2 separate regions of the Homo sapiens genome follow, and region 1 is linked to region 2. Evidence: promoter capture Hi-C in human tissues and cell types (Jung and others, 2019). All regions are on one chromosome and are shown on one strand. The core of a region is centred on a gene start or on the middle of the fragment in contact, and the rest is flanking DNA. Distances in the headings are between cores, read along the strand shown.

Region 1 (2,849 bases), core at 6-2,505, 670 kb before region 2:
ATGCACCTGTGGGAGGATGACGCAGGAGAAGCACTTGAGCCTGGGAGGCAGAGGTTGTCGTGAGCCGAGACTGCACCACTGCACTCCAGCCTGGGTGACACAGCAAGATCCTGCCTCAAAAAAAAAAAAAAAAAAAAAAAAAAAAAAAAAAAAAAGAAAGAAAGAAAAAGAAGAAGAAGAAAAAAGAAAGAAAGTAAGGGAAGGAAGGAAGGGAGGGAGGGATGGAAGGAAGGAAGGAAGAAAGAAAAACAAAGGAAGAGGAAGGAAGAAAAAATTAGTATTACTCTCATTGTGTCACTAACTTTAATTACTACCTATATTATTATCTATGACTGTCTTTGCTAAGGAAAGAAGGAACTAACATTTATTGAACACCTTCAGTTGTCAAGAACTTGGCAGGACTTATTTTAAGTCTCATATAACCCTCTGAAGTGGGTGTTGTTATTCCTATTTTACAGATAAAGAAACTGAAATTCAGAGAGATTAAAGTAATTTTCCCATGATCCCACAGCTGGTAAGTGGCTGAGATAAGACAGAAACCCAGCCTCACTCCTAAACAACCCATTTCCCCCAAAACTCTTATCTACCTTATCTACCTACCTACCTACCTAAAAAAACAAAACAAACCCCTGAAATCCTGACTGAGGGCCTGAGAACCTCATGGTGAGGTGTGAAAACCCGTGCAGAGCACAGCATGTCCTGTGACATGAATATCAAGGAATGTCCCCAGGCAACCCGTGCCTGCTCAGCCGCTGTAATTGAGACAGACCCCACCTCTTGCGACAGAGCCTTTCTGGGTCTAAAAGAAGCAGGAACAACAAAGAAGCAAACAACTGGGGCTCGAGTCTACCCGCAGGGACGCCCGCAGACACCAGGTGGCGCCCGAGTCTGGCCGAACGCTGAGCTCCCCTCGGTCTGATTTCTGAGGGGGCACAGCGTCCACCGACTGTCAAATAGAGTGGGTGGAGGTGATGGCCAGCCAAAGAGAGGTGTCCTAGCTATGGTTGGGTGGCCTGTGGGGGAGATGCTACGTGAGGGTGCCCTATCCAAACACTGAGCACCGAGGGGTGATCCTGATGTCCACCACAGTGACCCGGGGAGGAGTTGTGAGCTCATGGTCCCAGGGTCCTGCCATGCAGGCACCAGGGACAGAAGACGGAAGTGGGGGTTCCTTCAGTTCCTCCAAGAGAGCCGTTTTCCATTCCCCGGCAGAGGCCACCTCAGCCCCTCCGCAGCTCTGTGCTTGGCCTGGGTGGACCCCGACCAGTGGATGTGGTTGAGCAGGAGGAGTCCTTAGACCCCAGCTTCTGGTCACAGGGGAAAGGAGTCTCCCGCGTTGGGGATCCCCATCCCCCTGGAAGCCAGGCCCTTCTGTCCAGGGCCCTGTGCCTTCTCTTACTGTGGACTGAGCCTCCACTCTTGGTTTCCACTTGGTAGAATGTCTGGATGAAAACAATCACACTTGGATTCCAGGTGACACAGACATGCCCAAAACCCTGGTGACATAGCTCAAGCAGAAAAAGGGACGACTTGATGTAGCAGTCTCCTACCTTTGTCTGCCCCACCTCCTAATTACCGGGACCATCTCAGTCTTTCCAGGACTTGCCAATTTCATACATCCCAGTTTTTCTTATAAGTCATTGAAAATAGTCTGGAAAGCCCAATATTCAATGTGGCATCTCCCAAACAGCTTCTCTCAGCCAGAAGTGGGACAGAACTCTAAAAGTGCTGGGGTTTGGTTTACATACTAAGGTCACCCATGGCCTATCCTATATTCCTAAGGTGAGGCTGTTGGAAGGGGAGAGGCTCCTTCTACCCACGCAGAGCAACATGGAAAGGCAGCCACCTGCCCCCTCAGCTTGCAGCCTGGAGGCCTTTGCGTTCCTCTCCATTTATATGTCCTGGATTCCAGAGCCAAAATCTTCTACGCCCATAGACAGAGAGTAGGTTCATTCAGAGGCTCATTAATTACATGGCTAAGAGAAGGAAGGGGAAGAAAAGACTCATGAAAATGTTCATTTAAACTTAATTGCTGCCCATGCTCTTGCTAATTGAAGTAGCTCCGTTGCATTTCACTTATGTACCTGAGTGTATTTAAAATGGGATATTGCACAGTATAAACTAAGCCACATCACAAACTAACGATCTGGAAAATCTCAGTTAAATAAACAAAGCTGGCTTTAAGTTACACAGGAGAAACATGTAGTCTCCCGTGCGTACACACACACACACACACACACACAGACACACATACAGCCAAAGCACCAGGATCTCAGACCTTCGGTTCATATCTTCTCCTTCATAGTTCAAATTAAACACAGTCTTAGTCTCTTGCTCTCTCTTTTCCTCTCTCTTTCCCTTATTAAATTTATTTTTAACAGTACCTTAAAAAAATAAACTCACCCCTCTGTGCCACTCCTATGCCAGGTGCAGCCAGGGGCAAATTTTTACAGCTGAATTACATGACCTGAAAAATACGGAGCACATAATGAGAACATTGAGAGACCCCATCTCTAGCACCGGGCCAGTGCTGGTGTAATAACATTCCTGGAGAGAGCAGTAGCCGGGGCAGCTGTGGAGTCAGGCTGAAGCCCTTACTCAGCATGAGGAATTATATATATCTTGGAACTCTTTCCTGAACCTAAACATTATTGCTGAGAAAGGGATAACAGTGTGAGTGGCCATCGCTCGCCAGCCAGGGCTCACACACTGCTTCGAATGTGAGTTTCCTCCCAAGGCTGAGGGGAAACGTTCCAGACCCAACTTTGCCTAGGGCAGGGATGAGGATGGGGCTGAAGGCCTGGGAAGTCTTTGACTCTGGAGTGGTGTTGACATGGCAGTCGGATAAA
Region 2 (2,994 bases), core at 313-2,812:
AGAACACAGGGATATTTTAGTTCTAACACCCTCCTGTCTCCCTAGCCCTTACCTCCCTGCACATTCCAAATAATCTTTTGTAATTCACTGTCTCCGCCCACCCCATTTACTTTATGCCACTCCTAGTTACTGTCACACTAGGAAGAAGTCTAACATGCAGATTTAGAGTGGCATGGATAAATGGCAAAAAAATGCCTAGAAAATTGGTCTGTTCGCCTTTATAATTTTGGTTGAAAAATACTCCATCGCTCCCAACTGATGAAAACAGGAAGCTCTATTCATAAATATAAAATTCACTGCCTATGATATATAATCATCCTAATAAGAAAATGAGTTCTATACATACTTGTCCAAAGGGGCAAAAAAGGAGATAGTTTCCCAAAGATGTTTCCAATTTTCTTCTGAATCAGAATTAGCAAATCGAGACGACTAACATACTCTGTCTGTGGGCATTATTCCTTACTACACACAGCATTTTGTAATTTATTTCAAAGCTTCCATTAGAAACAAAAAAATACATAGCTTCTGTTAACCCACTCTATTCTAAGCTCATAGAATCAAATACTGAACAATCTACATTATAACATAAGCATTTTACTTTATAGAAGATCTGCTATCAGAAACTCTATTAATGTCTAAACTACTTAAAGAACTATATAAACTGAATACACTTCAATGAAAGACAAAAAATATTACAATCATAAAGAAAACTAAGATTCATCCAATAAACTATATTACAATCCCTGTCATTCATTTTTTTAAGATCTTCAAACTAGGCATGAGATAATGGTATACATGAAACATTACATTTAATCTTTATTGTAAAGGCCGCCATCTAATAGATTGATAATAAACTAGACAGACGTGATTTAAAATTTGTAAAAGAATGCCCAGACTAACACTTTCATGACAGCCAATTATAGTCAAGCCTAGCAAGCAGTTTGCAACCAGACCTTAAGGTAAACTTTTTTTTTTTTTACAATGAGTTACAGATTCACAAGTTTAAGAAGACAAGAAAAAGGAAAACAGAAGGAATCCAGCCACCCAGCAAATATGAAGCAGACCCCAGAATGTGATACAGTCCAAAGATGTGAATTATTGTATATCATCACTGTTGTTCAGAATTTCACACAGACTCTTGAGCCAATTTTGTTCATTTTTCCACAGACACAATAATGAACTAAAAAGAGGAGGCAAAAAGGCAGAGGTTGAGCGGGGAGTAGAAAGGAAAGCCCTTAACTGCAGAGCTCTGCTCTACAAATGCTTAACCTTACAGGAGTTTGGGCTCCTTCAGCATTTGTATTCTATCCAAATCCTCATGAGTCACAAAAATTAAAAAGCTATATCCTTCTGGATGCCAGGAAAGGCCTTACCACAAGCCTTTTGTGAGAGAAAGAGAGAGAGAGAAAGAGCAAGGGGGAAAAGCCACAGTGGTAGGCAGTCCCACTTTACTTAAGAGTACTGTGAGGTCACAAACCACATGATTCTGCCTCTCCAGTAATAGTGCTTGCAAAAAAAAGGAGTTTTAAAGCTTTTGCTTTTTTGGATTGTGTGAATGCTTCATTCGCCTCACAAACAACCACAGAACCACAAGTGCGGTGCAAACTTTCTCCAGGAGGACAGCAAGAAGTCTCTGGTTTTTAAATGGTTAATCTCCGCAGGTCACTACCAGCCACCGAGACCAACAGAGTCAGTGAGTGCTCTCTAACCACAGTCTATGCAGTAATAGTAGGTCCTTCAAATATTTGCTCATTCTCTTTTTGTTTTGTTTCTTTGCTTTTCACATGTTACCAGCTACATAATTTCTTGACAGAAAAAAATAAATATAAAGTCTATGTACTCCAGGCATACTGTAAAACTAAAACAAGGTTTGGGTATGGTTTGTATTTTCAGTTTAAGGCTGCAAGCAGTATTTACAACAGAGGGTACAAGTTCTATCTGAAAAAAAAAGGAGGGACTATGGCATCAAACAGCCTCTTCAGCACAGTGACACCATGTCAGCAAAACTTCTTTTGGGGTAAGTGTTACCATTTTTAAAATCCTGTAAGATATGAACCTGTTAAACATAAAGGTATGATTCTTTGATAAACTGCTAGCTTTTCCAAATAGCATATTAAAGATCCTAATTATGCTATCTTGTTGCATTAAGAATTGAAAAATGAAATTTCTGTATATATTTGCATTTGGTATCTGTAATGTATCTAATTTTCAAAGTAATGACTTGAAATATACAAAATTAAATTATCTCACATTGATCAAAATGTTTTCTAGAGTTATAGAGGTGAGGATATGAAAACAGTAAAAGAAACAGTTTAATACTCTCATTAACCCTCACCAGAAGAAAAGTCAGATCCTAAATTAATCAAAGCATTATAAATTATTGACTCCGGCAGCTCCCAATATTTGAGCAAACTTCAAAAAGGAAGCAATTTTACAAAATAACAGACCACAGAATTATCTCAACATTATGGTCTACCATGTATAACACAGAAATAAACCTGTAGTACAGTTAACATTTTAACCAGCTCAACTAAAAGAAATCTACTTATAAATTCAAACTGTATCCTATCTAAATAAGTTTGTTTCTAAACAACTTTATATAAGTATACATTCAGCTGAAATAAAATTATGATAAGCACATCACAGCCATTTTTAAAAGATCTTTATAGTTGCCCAGGATATTAAAAAGTTCATGGAAGTATTTTAAAACTTACATGCAACTGCATTTTTCTATGTAATTTTAATTTTACATCTACACACTGTTATCCATAGACCTTGTTATAAACACACTGAAACACTGAAACGTCTAAGATTCTTTTAATCACATTCTTGGACCTACCAAAATGAATAACTGCTGTTTAGTCTCATGAAAAATAAAGCTCCATAAGGATACCCTGTATGATTTTTAAAAGCCACAACTATTAAACCATGCTGGACTTTAAAAGAAGTAGGCATAATCTTGTCCCTTAATATTTAATTTCAAGTTACTGTTGA

The links. Contacts are between HindIII fragments. The study calls those that stand out against the background at their distance.
Region 1: a fragment that was not itself captured here is called in contact with the fragment with the promoter of RUNX2 in region 2 in 1 of the 25 tissues and cell types used here (dorsolateral prefrontal cortex).

The regions. Positions count from the first base shown.
Region 1 is chr6:44,654,815-44,657,663 of GRCh38, forward strand. No RefSeq gene overlaps it. Among named protein-coding and RNA genes, the nearest start is that of MIR4642, 220 kb to the left of the region's middle. The HindIII fragment of the contact is 4,670 bases long and covers 1-2,849 here.
Region 2 is chr6:45,326,768-45,329,761 of GRCh38, forward strand. RUNX2 (RUNX family transcription factor 2) reads left to right here and starts at 1,563. Exons shown (of 9, transcript NM_001024630.4): 1 at 1,563-1,693; 2 at 1,894-2,017. The coding sequence starts at 1,960. All of the region lies in intron 2 of SUPT3H (SPT3 homolog, SAGA and STAGA complex component), which reads right to left. RefSeq lists a cis regulatory region at 281-287, a promoter at 1,245-1,885 and an enhancer at 1,292-1,332. The HindIII fragment of the contact is 4,056 bases long and covers 1-2,994 here.